5 separate regions of the Homo sapiens genome follow, and regions 1, 2, 3 and 5 are each linked to region 4. The links are contacts of gene promoters, found by promoter capture Hi-C in blood cells and fetal thymus (Javierre and others, 2016). All regions are on one chromosome and are shown on one strand. Each heading gives the region's core, a stretch centred on a gene start or on the middle of the fragment in contact. The rest is flanking DNA. Distances are from core to core; before and after follow the strand shown. Region 1 has its middle 15 kb from the start of FER1L6. Region 2 overlaps FAM91A1 (family with sequence similarity 91 member A1). Region 3 has its middle 34 kb from the start of FER1L6. Region 4 holds the start of TMEM65 (transmembrane protein 65). Region 5 overlaps FAM91A1 (family with sequence similarity 91 member A1).

Region 1 (2,700 bases), core at 52-2,551, 540 kb before region 4:
TTTTTTTCACTTAAAATCACATTATGAACATCTTTCTATGAGGTACATGTCATTCAGCCTCGTGTTACCATCTGCCTCTCATCACTGGGCTCTCCACTCCTGCCCCATCAGGTCTTCGCTAAGATGCGAGTCCTCAGCATTTGTATTCATTAGAAGTCTTGGTTGGTTGTAAGAGGAACCGGCTTTATTTCATTTTTTAAAAAGAGAGGGCATTTATTATAAAGACCCTGGGGTTCTGATGGAACTGGAGAACAGAGACGGAATTAAGCCTCAGAGACAACTAGGATCAGGGTTCTCCAATCTTCCTCCTCTCTGTATGCCTGTTCGATTCTTCTCCCTCCAAACTTGTTTCCTCTGCTTCCCCAACCACTCCCAAGGCTTACATATTACAGGCTCATCTACCGAGAGAGAGCCTGATTTGTCTCTATCCTAATTCCCATATTCCTAAGGAAGGGGATTATGGTTATGCCACCACTTGTGGCTGGCCATGTTAGAAAAATTGGCTACACCTGTAACAAACATGGAAGTGAGAGATGAAGAAAATCACCTTACGATGGGTGGGACCAGATAGACAGGGCAAATGATGCTCAGGACACCTTCCTTAATCACTCCAAGTTGGAGTTAGGAGCCCTTCTCTGTAAGCTCAGAGCATTCTGTATATATACTATGAGAGCACTGAACACAATGAAATGTGAATGCTCATTTGTTTGTAGTTCTAGCTAAATGGTAAGCTCCATGAAGATAGGCACTGTTGTGTTTATCAATGCTTACTGGGCTATGACTGTGCCACTGAGGTTTTGGGATTGCTTATCACAGCAGTTACTCATCTCTAACCAAACATACCCTCCCACGTGATGACCCTATGTCCCTTCCCAAAAATGACCTGCTTTGAGCCACTCTCACCTTTGTTTATTGATGTATTATTTACTGCTGGAGGAATATGCATATCTATAATCACTTGACTTGACTTTCGGGACACAAGGGAACTGTGGATATATTTGGACCTCTGTGTTTCTTATGGTAAAATACTGGCCTTTTGCTCCTCCTATTCTGCAGGGCTCTGGTTGCTTTAGGTCTAATCCTCATCCAGGTACTTATGCTGGGCTGCTTTTCCACTCAAACCATTTGGGCTCTCGGGGCAAGGAGGAGTAGTAGCTCGATGTATTTTTGCTAAAGCTGCACTGATGGACAGTGGGCCAGAGCTGGGCTCTCTCAGAAGAGCTTTCAAGGTGGCCTGGGGTCAAGGTGCATTTTAATTTCTCCACGCTTAACTTTCATACCTTTGCTTAATACCTGTGATATTCCCTGCCCTTATAGTCAAAAATCAAGTTTTCCTTTATTCTTCCATTTCATCCTTCCCCGCTTCCTTCTCTTTGTTATTTTCCTTCCACAAATATCTCCTGCTGAACTCTAAGTTCTGTAACAACACAAATCAAGGCTTTTATTCATCACTATGTCCCATTACCCAGCTTGGTACTTAGCACATAGTAGAGGCTTAATATATATAGGTTGAATAGAGTTGGATATGAGACCTGAACCATATTAGATGCTGAGGAGGAAGGAGTGAGAAAAGATAATTTATGCCCTTATGCAACTCACAATCAAACTCTAAAGATTCTTCAGGAAGCAGTGGTCATAATAAAAACCATAATAACCATAGCGATTGTTTATACGATGCTCACCATGCGCCTGGCACTGTTTTAAGCCTGACTGATTTTTGAGGGCAGGAGGTGGAGGGCACAGCACCAGGGGTCTTTGCTGCAGCTGATGTGGCCTCTGCAGAGGTTCAGAGACCTTATACAGCTGCTGTGACTGGTAGGTAGCTCAGGAGTGTGGGGGAAATGTTGGGTTCGAAGCACTTCAGAGAATCCCAAACTAGTTCACACCACCAGAGCTGAAGTAAATGACACGAGACCCAGCCCCGCTGAGCTTTTCTGGCTGCCATGAAAGCCATGCAATTCCTGACTTGAGTCTGAGACTCCAGAACTATTCTGTCTGGCTCCAAGTGTTCATGGAACTCTCATGCAACAAAGGAAATGCCTGAGATAATAGGACACTTTAGAACTGTTTTGAGCAAGAGATATTTTGACGTGGTCTGAAAAAAAAATAAACCTGTTTATAAACATGACTAATGCATAATGGAGTCTGTCACTCTGTATTTCTGACATAAGGACCATGTGTTTGTGTTGGGACATGTTCCAAATTTCTAGAGAAAAAATGGCGCCCCAGCAGTTAGTGGTGCTTTAGAGTTATGTATACTGGGACAGATGTCCTTAGAAAACCACTCTGTTTCAATCTGCAGTGATCTGGAATCTTCTCCATCCCTGAATGCCACCCCATGTCTTTACTCATGTGGCAGAGACTGCTATTTGTCCATCAATAGCCACTTTTCCTGGCTTCTGTAGCTATTTAGTTTTCAGCTGGGTACATGGCTTCTCAGAATAAAGACTACATTTTCTCCAGCCTCCTCTGTAGCCAGGTGTGGCCAGGTGACTAAATTCTGGCCAATGAAAGCAAGCAGAATTTACCTAGCATCTTGTGGGTTATGTCCTCAAAAGGAGACCTATGCTCCATTCATCCCCATTTCCTGTTCCCATTAGCTGGAATGAGAATGTCAGAGTGAGCTGTCCTGGACGGAGCATGTGGCTGGCAGGTAATGGGACAAGAAGGGGTAGGAACCAGGATCTCTGATATCCGTCT
Region 2 (2,700 bases), core at 125-2,624, 590 kb before region 4:
ATGATGCCACAGCTACCTACAACAATAATACTGGCTAACACTTTTGAATACCTGCTGTGTGCTAGATGTGCCAAGCTCTATTACAAGTGCTTTTTATATTGTCTTACTTAATTCTCATAACAGCCCCAGAGGTATGTATTATTTGTACCCCCATTTCACAGATGAGGAAAGTGAGCACAGAACAATTAAGTAACAGCTCATGTCTTAGTGGTAGTAAAGGTCCAGGATTTTTTGGCAGTTCACCATGAAACTTGTACTCTTAATCACTGCAAAGAACTGTTGTACTGAAGTGATAGGTGCTTTTATGGGGCGATAGTGTCAAGATCAAGAGAGTTGATATTCCCAGTGGTCAGACCACATCTTAGAAGGGATATTGGTTTAGAGGAAAGGGGTGGAGTAATGAGGGCACCTAGAGACCAGGTTGTATTTATGCGTAGCTGAAGCAATGGAAATGAGTATGTGGGCTTCTTTTTGGTCTGCATTTAATTTTCTCCAGGGTACGTACTAAATCCATTGAGTGGAAGGCTTAGAAATTTTACTTCAGTCTAAAGTACCTCTTAATGGAACTCTCAAACTGTATCATAATAAGCTAGTGAACTTTCCTGTTACTGACAATATTCATGTAGAGTTTGACTAAATTTCTGGCTAGAGAGATTCTGAATTGGCAGATGGATCTAATTCCAATTCAATCACAAGGAACAAATATTACTAACTAGCAAATGTTGGTACTTACAGTAAGTTTGTTCTCTACATTCTGTTGGTATGTTGCATATTTTGGCACCTTAATTGATGGCTATGTGCACAGTTTTTTGTTTGAATTATAGAGTGATAAATATGTAGTTCATTGAGCTAATGACATGTAATCACTGGTTTCAACATAAATAAATTTCAGGAGACTTGTGAATTAGTTAATTTGGACAGAACTTAATTAAAAATATTTTGCTTTTCTTAGATATGCACTTTGCCTGAGAAATGCGCTGTTGATAAGATCATCGATTCAGGCCCTCAACTCTCTGGATCACTAGATTACAATGTAGTACATAGTAAGTGGTTAGTAGAAATGGTCTTTTGTCAACATAAAAACTTGTTTTAAACCATCAATAATTACTAGCAATTACTTATCAAGTAGGTACAAATAGTACTAGTTTCTAAGGCATGTTATTGTTTGAAATGTGACCTTAGTCTTTTGTTTTCCAGTGTGGCTATAATTAGTCACATACACTAGAAATTTATGCAACTGAATGATAAGAAAAATTTTGTACTTCAGAGTATATGCAGGAAACCGAGATTTAAAAACTTTAATTCTTTTTCTCTTCTATTTTACTTTTTCTTTCGTCACATAGCATTCATTTGTAAGAATCTTTACAGAAAGCCAGGAATTAGTTTTTTTAAAAAAATCACTGTTGTGTAGTGTTCCATCTAAAACAAGGTACTTTTGTTTCTTCAGGTTTGTATAACAAAGGATTTATTTATCTGGATGTACCAATATCTGATGACAGTTGTATAGCAGGTAAGTCCGTGCTAACATTTTTCACTGTTTTTTGAATGGATATCAGGTGCTAAGCATTGCATATCATCCGTTCTAGGATCTTAGATGTTAGGATATTTCAAGAAAAATATTGCTTCGTTATTACATTTTAACATAGTACATTGGTTTTACTTAAATTCTTTATTCTCATTTTTGTATTTGGTGTACATACTACACTAAAATAATAGAAACCCAAGGTAAATTTCTAACAATCCCAAATCAAATCAATATTTTTATAAATTTTTGTTACCTTTTAATCCTTGTTCAGTGTGTAGCTGTTTTTACATGTGTTCAGTAATCTCATAGAATTGTATGTTCTCATTTTCACTTAACATACTGGTGCATTATTTTTTCATGTTACTGTAGTCTTTTTGTCTATTTCCTTTTCCCTTCTTCCTTTACCTACTTCTCCAAGTTAAACCAATATTAGGAGCCTTGTATATTTGTCATACACTTTATGGATGTATCAATTTATTAAACCATTTTGTATTTCTGGTAATTTAGATTATTTCCAGTTTTTTTGCCACTACAATACTGATATGTTCAATATCCTTGAATACAGAGTGATGCTTTTTTTTCTATAGGTTAGATTTCTTACCAATTTATAGAAGCACTTACTATGTTCAGGTTATATGTTACAAGTATGTCTTGTGGCATATCTTTTAACTATTGTTCTTGTGTTTTATTATACTTAGATATTGAATATTTGTGTAATCAAATATAAAGTGTCAAAAAATTTCAGAGAATGACCCTAATATTAACAAATTAGTGGTGATAGGGCTTATTACAGAAATACTTCTTTATATCAGTGTTGAATCTTGACAAGATATCATGCTGTAGCGTGTCCAGACCTTTGGGTTGGCATATGTTTGTGATTCTTTAATAACACATTTTAAACCTTGTGCATATGTGAATTTTTTTTTTTTTTTTTTTTTGAGACGGATTCTAGCTCTATCGCCCAGGCTGGAGTGCAGTGGCATGATTTTGGCTCACTGCAACCTCTGCCTCCTGGGTTCAAGCGATTCTCCTGCCTCAGTCTCCCGAATAGCTGGGATTATAGGCACCCACCATCACGTCTGGCTAATTTACTCTACAGGTAAAACCCATAGAGACAGGGTTTCACCATTTTGGCCAGGCCAGTCTTGAACTCCTGACCTCAAGCAATCTGCCCG
Region 3 (2,700 bases), core at 21-2,520, 550 kb before region 4:
ATGAACAAATGATTGTGTTACGTTTACATATAGATATTTAGATACATTTCAGAAGTGAAAACATTTAAGCTATAACTATGTTCTTTTAAAATTATAACATCCATTTAATGGATGGTTACAATATTTTCTAGTTTCTAGTGCTCCCAGCTGTTAGGATCTGCAGGTGTTCTATGGGTCCAGGCAATGTTACATGTCAGTAATAATGGTACAATGTGGGATATTTGTGCTGTTCCTAGGTTAAGGGAGACATCAAGGAGGGAGCCTTCAGCTTCCTTTTCTAGGCATTCTAAGTACAGCTACGAAATTCTGGGATCTGGGGAGGGAAGTGAAGTCTCCACAGTCTGTACCCAAGCCTGCATGTCATTATTCTCTTTCCAGTCCTGTGCCTCACTCCATTTCAGCCTCTCTGGTTCAGCTTTCCCTTAGTATCCTAGCTGGATGGGGAAAGAGGTGGTATTTAGGGGATTAAATGCTCTTAATAATGAACTCTTATTTTCTGATAAATTCCTCTTCCTCTGCTCTGCAAAGCCATCTTCCAGTTCCAAGTATCTGCTTTCTGTCTTCGTGTCCTGTGGTTTGGGTTACAAACCCCTCATAGTTTTATCACTGATTGTTTCTGTTTCTCATTCTCCTTGTGGTTTTAGTGGGTGGTTGCCAAGAGGAGAAGAGCAGAAAGTTCTTAAACATTTTCAAAGCAGAAATCCTCCCAGCCTCATTATGTTTTTATTTCTTTTTGTTAGGGAACATATACAAAAGAAGGGAGAATAGTATAGTGAAGCTTCATGCACCCATCACCCAGTTTCCACAGTGATTCATGTTTAGCCCCTCATTGCATATATACAAAACAAAGACCACTTATATATGTATATATGTGTGTGTGTAAATATACACACACACACAACGATACTATTTCCCCCACCACTAGATTATTTTAAGGCAAAACTTGGATACCACATAGTTTATTCTATAAACAATGCAGAATCATTTTTAACTCTGAATTTCTGGAAGCAATAGTCTCCCAGGACATAAACAGCACAAGTATCCCCACCAAACCATTATTAGGCATGTAACATTGGAATTAGTAGCTAATGAAATTAGGCAAAAGAATAAGAGGTAGTCACATTTAAAAGGATGGGGAAAAATTATAATTTTTCAGATACTTATATACTAGGAAGATGCAAAAGTTACCTGAAACATTAGAAACAGACTTCAGTAAGTAGCTTTCTTATCTGTAATCAACAACCAGTTATATTGATATAAGGAAAGAAAAGAGCTACCTTAGTAGCAAAAATTATGTATAAATATAAAGTAAAAGATCTTTCTTAATACTAAGAACAAAAACCTCAATAAATATGTACCCATGCATAAATATAAAATAAAGTGAAATACTGGATGTCTTAGTTTGTTCAGTTTAGTTCAGGTAGACAAAAGTCCACAGCTGCTTAGAAGCAACAAACATTTCTCTCTCACAGTTCTGGAGGCTAGGAAGTCCATGGTCAAGGCTCTGGCAGAGTCTGAAACAAGAGGGTCCTGTTTCCCAGTTCATAGGTGGCCATCTCCTCAATGTGTCCTCACGGGGTGGAGGGGTCAAATGAGCTCCCTCAAGCCTCTTTCCTAAGAGCACCCATCTCACTCATTAGAGCTCTGCCCTCATGACCTAATCACCTTCTGAAGGCCCCACCTCCTAATACCATCAAGTTGAGGGTTACAGTTTCAACATATGAATTTTGGGGGGACACAGTCGGATCACAGCACCTGACAAGAAGCTTAGTGAGAAATTTGCAAGATACCCTTGAGGAACACCTTAAAGCACTCCTGAAGGACAGAAAAGAAAACCTGAATGTACGGAAAATCATAACTGTTCTTGGATAGGCAGCCTCAATATTGTCAAGTTACCAATTCCCCCTAAATATATTATGAATTAAGCACAATTTCCTTCAGAATACCAGTGAGTTTTTGTTTTGTTTTGTTTTCGTCTTTAAATTTTGGAACTTGGCAAAGTGATTCTAAAGCTGAACCTGGAAGAAGAAACAGTGGAGACTTAAAGGTAAAAAAATCTAAAAATATCTATCCCAGCAGGCGTAATCAAATGTATTATAAGCCTAAAGTAATTAAACAGTATGGTACTAATTCAGATACAGACAGATTATTCAGATACAGACAGAAAACTAAAAAATAGAACTTAATACACAAGAATCTGAATGTGGCATTTCAGATTAGTATCCAGGAATGTCCGTGGATCATTTAGTAACTGATTTGGGGATAACTGGCAGATATTTGGAAAAAATATAGGGGGGCGGAATTCTGCCTCAATCCTCATACCAAAAACTTAAGAGGGATCAAGGTTTAAATATTTTAAAATATTAACATAAAAGTGGAAACAGGTGATTTTTTTTCCATACATTTGGCATAAAGACTTTTTAAAGGATGACACCAATCCCAGAAGATTTAAAAGAAAACTGGTAATTATTACTAAATAAAAATGAAACCTCCTGCCTGCCAGAACTCTATAAACTGAGTCAGAAGAAAATCTTAAACCTGAGATAAAATATTTTCTAGATATGACAAGGACTAATTTTCTTCCTGTCACGGGTCGGGTTCTCCAGGAAGCAAATGTTGAGACAGAGTTAAGAGTGTGGGAGGTTTGCTGGGGAGTAGCGCCTGGGAAGGAAGAGGGAAGGAGCAGAGTCTGCAGGGAGA
Region 4 (2,700 bases), core at 3-2,502:
CAGCATGCCACCTGCACGGGTGCACGCTCGCAAGAAAGCAGCAAGGGCTAAGGGACAGGAGGGCTGGGGAGGGGAGGCACGGGGCAAATCAAAACTCAATCCCAACAGCGTTAACTGGCATTTTAGGCCGAAGCTCCGGATTCGGAGGCTGGGGAGGAAGTAGCTAGCGCTGGCCTCGGCTGCCTGGCACGACCCGCGCCCGTCCTACCTGCCTGGGGGAAACTCGGGCGGCGGAAAGTCTCCCCGCCCCCAGCCGTCCCAGGCGTGGGGCCAGACAGGCGAGGGGGGCGGAAGGGGGGCGGCGGCGGGGGTCCAAGATCCAGGGCCGCAGCGGGCTCCCGGTGGGCTGGCGAGAAGAGGAGGGCGTCGGGGCCCCCGGGCTCGCCCCCCACCTGCCCCCCTTACCTTGGGCAATGGCAATAGACTCGAAGCGGTGCAGCTCTTTGAGCAGGCAGCTCCTCTCCGTGGAGTGCAGGCTGTAGATGAAGTCGCGCGCGCCCTGCGCCGTGTTCAGCGCCTCCATGGGCTCCTTCTTGGGGTGCGTGCCCAGCCGCCTGGGGCCGCCCGGCAAGCCGCCGGGGGGCGCGAGCGCCAGCAGCCCCCGCCCGCAGCAGCACCAGGACGGCGGGCGGGGCGCGGCGGCGGCGGCCGGGCCCGGCCTCAGGCTGCGCGCGGTCCGGCTCCTCAGCAGCGGCAGCAGCCGGGACATGGCGAGCTGAGGAGCTGGGACCCCCGCGGCCGTCCGGCAAGGCGGTTTCTGGCGCGGCTGAGGCGAGAAGGAGCTGGGCTCAGCTCGACCCCGCCCCGAGGTCCTCCTGCCAGGCAGCCGAGGCGCCGGGCACCATGCACTCCGCGGGCCCGCGCGGCTCTCGCCTCCTGTTCCGTCCCCACTTCCTTTCCAAAAGGCCCGCGGCGGCTCCCGCCCCTCCGATGGGAAAAACTTTCTCTGAGACGGCCGGGCCCGGACAGCGCCCGGAGAGGGCGGGCGGTCGGTGCGGGCGGGCGCCTCCCGGCTGAGGAGGAGCGGCGCGGGCGGGCGGGGCGGGCTAGTGTGTGTCTCTGTCAGTCTGATCTTCCAGAGGATGAGTCAGCCACGCACCGCCCTCCTCCAGCGCCGCCCTACTCTCCCGCCAGCTTTCTCACCCTCTAGCCTCCCCACGTCCCCACTCTGTAAGGTTCCCGAGCCCTCAAAGCAGCCGCGCTCCCGAGCCGCAGCCGCCGCCGCCGCCGCTACCCCTAGCGGCAGCAGAAGTGGGAACGGGGCGGGGCGAAAGGGGAAGGAGGTGCGGGGGGGCGGGGAGGTGTGTGAGCGAGGCTGCGCAGGCGCAGTCTGCAGGCTCTCGGGCCGCCCTCCCTCCTAGGGGAGGAGCGTGCACACGCGTCCCCTCCCGCGCTGGTGCGTGAAGGTGGAAGGAGGTAGGGTGCGCCACCCTGTGCTGGCGTTAAACCTACAGATCGGAATAGGGAAAACGAGCTCTGGACCCCTCGCCCGCCAGGGTAGTACAGCTGCCACCCGGCCCCCAACCTGGGGCCACATCTGGAGCTTGTTCTGAAAGGTGCCCCGGCGTGCGGCCCCGCTCTGGACAGGCGGAGAGCTGCGCTGCCACCCCAGCCCCGACGGGATCACGGCGCTCTGCTCCGGAACGAAGCGCCCCAGCTGCGCCCTTCGCCAAGTCAGCGCCCACCGCCGCTTCGGCCGAGCAGGCCGGCTCTAATGCAGTCGCTCTGGGCGCCCCAAAGAGAAAGCGAAGCCAGTTCCACCCCTGCCCAAGGAGGGTCTGAGACTGAGCCCTTGACACGAGAACAGTCCTCCCCGTTCAGATTCCAGCAGCTGGCATGCAAATTGTTAATGCTAGAGGCAGAGGCAAGAATGTCATAGACCTTTCCTAGTGGTTGCTTGTGATTTTTTTGTCTCTGTGCTAAAGCGGGAAGAATAATTTGATTGTCCACGATTTCCCCTGATCCAGGTCCTAGGCATCTTTCAAGGCCCAGGTGAAAGGTCTCCTACTTCATTAAGCTGTCCCTAATCTCTTCTAAGGGAGGAGATCTCTGCTTTATCTGAACCTGTCTAATGACGCTTAGGCACCCTTAGAGAATAAATCCACTTAATAAATCTGCTGGAGCGTAATCAAGATCTAAATCCCATCCTTATCATAAACAGTGCTGCACTCAGCCCGGAAACTTGTAGGTAGTAAATGTGCTACATGTAAGTAGAATATTAAACTGAATAATGGAGGATTGTTACCACTAAAGCCTCCTACTTCTCTAACTCTGGTTCTCAAAGTGTGTCCCAGAGCTTTTTAGACGTGAGAAATAGTGGACCCCACTTCACACCTCCTGAATCAGAACGTAGACATTGGACCCAGTCATGTGGGTTTTAACAAGCCCTCCAGTAATAACACACACGAAAGCTTGAGAAACACTGATGTCTCTTAAACATTGAAAGGAATCGCTTCTTTTTTAAATTCCAAGGTGATGCCTCTGTGATGTAATAACAACAATTAAGAATGCTCTCTGTGGAAATGAAAGCTTTTTGAGTGCATAAAGTATATCTTCCTTGTCTTTGAAACCCCCTTCATTCCCTAGTGTGCACTGGAATCCTCTGCAGAGCTATTTCAGTCTCAGGCTCATGGGAGTACCACCCCATCCCCCCCACAATTTCCTACCCCCAAGATATTCTGATTCACTGGGGTGGATCAC
Region 5 (2,700 bases), core at 188-2,687, 570 kb before region 4:
CTTTACAGTAGTTTCCCCATCTGTGGGGAATATGTTCCAAGACCCCCAGGGGTTGCCTGAAACCACCAGTAGTACCCAACCCTATATATAGTACGTGTTTTCCTATATGTATATATATATATATAAATACCTGGGATAAAGTTTCATTTATAAATTAGACATCTCTTACTAGAGATTAACAACAATTACTAATAAGAAAATAGCATACTGTAATATAAGTTATATGAATGTGGTCTCTCTCAAAATACCTCGTTATACTATACTCACCTATTTTCAGACCTTGGTTGACCACAGATGATAACTAAAACCATGGAAAGCAAAACCTCACATAAAAGGGGACTATTGTATTGAGTATATAATTCACATACTGTACAATTCACCAATTTAAATTGTGCAGTTAAGTGGGTTTTAGTGTGTTCACAGATATGTACAGCCATCACCACACTCAATTTTAGAACATTTCATTACCTTAAAAAGAAACCTTGTATCCTTTAGTGATCACTCTTCTATTTTCTCCCCGCTACTCATCTCCTTCCCTCTAGTCTTAAGCAACACTAATCTACTTGTTGTCTCTATAGATTTGCCGAATCTGGGCATTTATGTGAATGGAATCATATATAATATGTGGTCTTTTGTGACTGGCTTCCTTCATTTAACATAATGTTTTCAAGGTTCATCATGTTGTCATAGTATCAATACTTCATTCCTTTTTGAGGCCAAATAATGTTCCATTTTATGGATATGCCACATTTTGTTTATTCCTCCATCAGTTGATGGACATGTGGGTTGTTTTCACCTTTTGGCCATTATGAAGAATGCTGTCATAAACATTTGTGTACAAGTTTTTCTGTGGACATATGTTTTTATTTCTCTTGGCTATATATGTATAGGGATGGAATTACTGGGTCATATGGTAATTCCATGTTTAAGCATTTAAGGAACTGCCAGACTGTCTTGCAAAGTGGCTGCATCATTTTACATTCTCACGGGCACTTGATATTATGTGGCTTTTTGATGATAACCACCTTAGGAGGTGTGGAATGGTATCTCATTATAGTTTTGATTTACATTTTCCCGAAGACTAATAATGTTGAGCTTCTTTGCATGTGCTTATTGGGCTGTGTGACATTTTCATGATAAACCTTATACTTTATTTCCCACCTATAAAATGGAGATGGCAATATCTATTGTATAATAACAAACACTTATAATAATGGCAACTAGTGGTAAGGTAAGCAGTTTATGCTCATAGAATTGAGAGAATGAAATGAAAATGTACGTGTCAAATGTGTAGCACACTTGCTGGCACATAATAGGTTCTCCGTAAAGATTTCGTCAGTTCATCTAACAATTGAATGTGCATATTTTGCGCTAATTAATATCAATATGCAAATAAGACAGGGCCCCTCATCTTCAAGGAATTTAAGGATGGTGGGAAAAGCTGCATAAGCACTCAGTTTCAGTTTATCGAATAGAATTACATATAGTGGAAGACTTAAAAAGAACTATCCAGTCCAGCCTTGGGGCAAGGAGAAGGGCTTAGGGGAGGTTCCTTAGAGAAAGTGAGACCCAGGCTGAATACAAAAGGATGACTTAAAAGAAGCGAGGTAGTAGGGGTCAGCATGATTAAATCTCTGGGCAAGGATTTTTTTTTTTTTCTTTTTTCTTTGCTGCTATTTTTCTAGTGCCCAGCACGGTGCTTGGGTCATAGTAGTTGTCCAGTTAGTGTTTGTGGAATAAATAAATAAGAATATGAAGTGACATAACATGCCAGGGTCAATAAGCTGTTCAGTGTTTTTGAGGGGTGAGTTGGAGTGTGAGGGGGTTGTGGTCAGAGACAAGTCTGGAGAAGTAGGCTGGCCCTGCAGTGCCGCCTGCCTTGAGTGTCCTGCCGTGGAACTGAGAAGTTGACCTGTAGATTGATGGTAGCAATTACAGGGGGGTAACAGGGATTAACATGGTCAAATTTGTTTCAGGAATCAACCTTGGGATGATATTGAGAATGGGAGGGAGTGGGGAGACACCTGAAGCAAGAAGACCAGTTAGGACTGTGTGTAGTAGTTTAGATAAGAGATAAAGATAGCCCGGATCAAGGACATGGTAATAAGAATTGAAAGGAAAAATGGATTTAAGAACTACTACAAATATACAATTAATAGAATTGATCAGATATCTGAGAGAGATGGGAAGAGGGAAGAAAGATTCTGGGGTATTTGACTTGTGAAGGTAGAAGGGTGGTGATACCACTACTGTAGGGAACATAGGAGGAAGTGACATCACAGGAGGTGGTGATATCACTACTCTAGGGAACACGGGAGGAAGTGATATCATGGGAGGTGGTGATACCACTACTCTGGGGAACACGGGAGGAAGAGCACATTTATGGGGCAGATGATGTGTTGTGTTTATATGGTGCCTGTGGTAATTGGAAATATTCTGAAATTCAAATGAGAGGTTAGACAAGAGTGATTAAGTGTCAGCATCAGGTGGTAGATGGTAGTTGAAACCATGAGAGGATGAAATTAGCCAGGGAAGATATATAGTATGGGGTGGTCGTGGGAGATAGCATCATAGAATGGGCTAGACATGGACTTAAGTCAGACTGCCTAAACTCAGATCTTGGTTCCATCATTTACTAGTAATCTTAGACAAGTTAAATACCTTTTTGAACTTTAGTGTCTTTACCTATAAACTGGAGAT

Evidence for each region. Contacts are between HindIII fragments. The CHiCAGO score rates a contact against its expected background, and 5 or more counts as called.
Region 1: a fragment that was not itself captured here is called in contact with the fragment with the promoter of TMEM65 in region 4 in 1 of 17 cell types (M0 macrophages); the score reaches 6.1 in M0 macrophages.
Region 2: a fragment that was not itself captured here is called in contact with the fragment with the promoter of TMEM65 in region 4 in 1 of 17 cell types (neutrophils); the score reaches 5.1 in neutrophils.
Region 3: a fragment that was not itself captured here is called in contact with the fragment with the promoter of TMEM65 in region 4 in 11 of 17 cell types (M2 macrophages, naive CD4 T cells, total B cells and 8 more); the score reaches 9.6 in M2 macrophages.
Region 5: a fragment that was not itself captured here is called in contact with the fragment with the promoter of TMEM65 in region 4 in 2 of 17 cell types (naive CD4 T cells and activated CD4 T cells); the score reaches 5.3 in naive CD4 T cells.

The regions. Positions count from the first base shown.
Region 1 is chr8:123,835,541-123,838,240 of GRCh38, forward strand. No RefSeq gene overlaps it. Among named protein-coding and RNA genes, the nearest start is that of FER1L6, 15 kb to the right of the region's middle. The HindIII fragment of the contact is 7,253 bases long and covers 1-2,700 here.
Region 2 is chr8:123,779,033-123,781,732 of GRCh38, forward strand. FAM91A1 (family with sequence similarity 91 member A1) reads left to right here. Exons shown (of 24, transcript NM_144963.4): 7 at 953-1,043; 8 at 1,448-1,510. Among named protein-coding and RNA genes, the nearest start is that of FAM91A1, 12 kb to the left of the region's middle. The HindIII fragment of the contact is 2,784 bases long and covers 1-2,700 here.
Region 3 is chr8:123,816,607-123,819,306 of GRCh38, forward strand. No RefSeq gene overlaps it. Among named protein-coding and RNA genes, the nearest start is that of FER1L6, 34 kb to the right of the region's middle. The HindIII fragment of the contact is 988 bases long and covers 777-1,764 here.
Region 4 is chr8:124,371,449-124,374,148 of GRCh38, forward strand. It overlaps TMEM65 (transmembrane protein 65), which reads right to left and starts at 1,253. Exons shown (of 7, transcript NM_194291.3): 1 at 406-1,253. The coding sequence starts at 709. RefSeq lists silencers at 276-325, 336-465, 516-645, 776-1,045, 1,166-1,395 and enhancers at 1,120-1,414, 1,626-1,815. The HindIII fragment of the contact is 4,556 bases long and covers 1-2,409 here.
Region 5 is chr8:123,800,156-123,802,855 of GRCh38, forward strand. The region is part of intron 18 of FAM91A1 (family with sequence similarity 91 member A1); the gene reads left to right. Among named protein-coding and RNA genes, the nearest start is that of FAM91A1, 33 kb to the left of the region's middle. The HindIII fragment of the contact is 4,877 bases long and covers 1-2,700 here.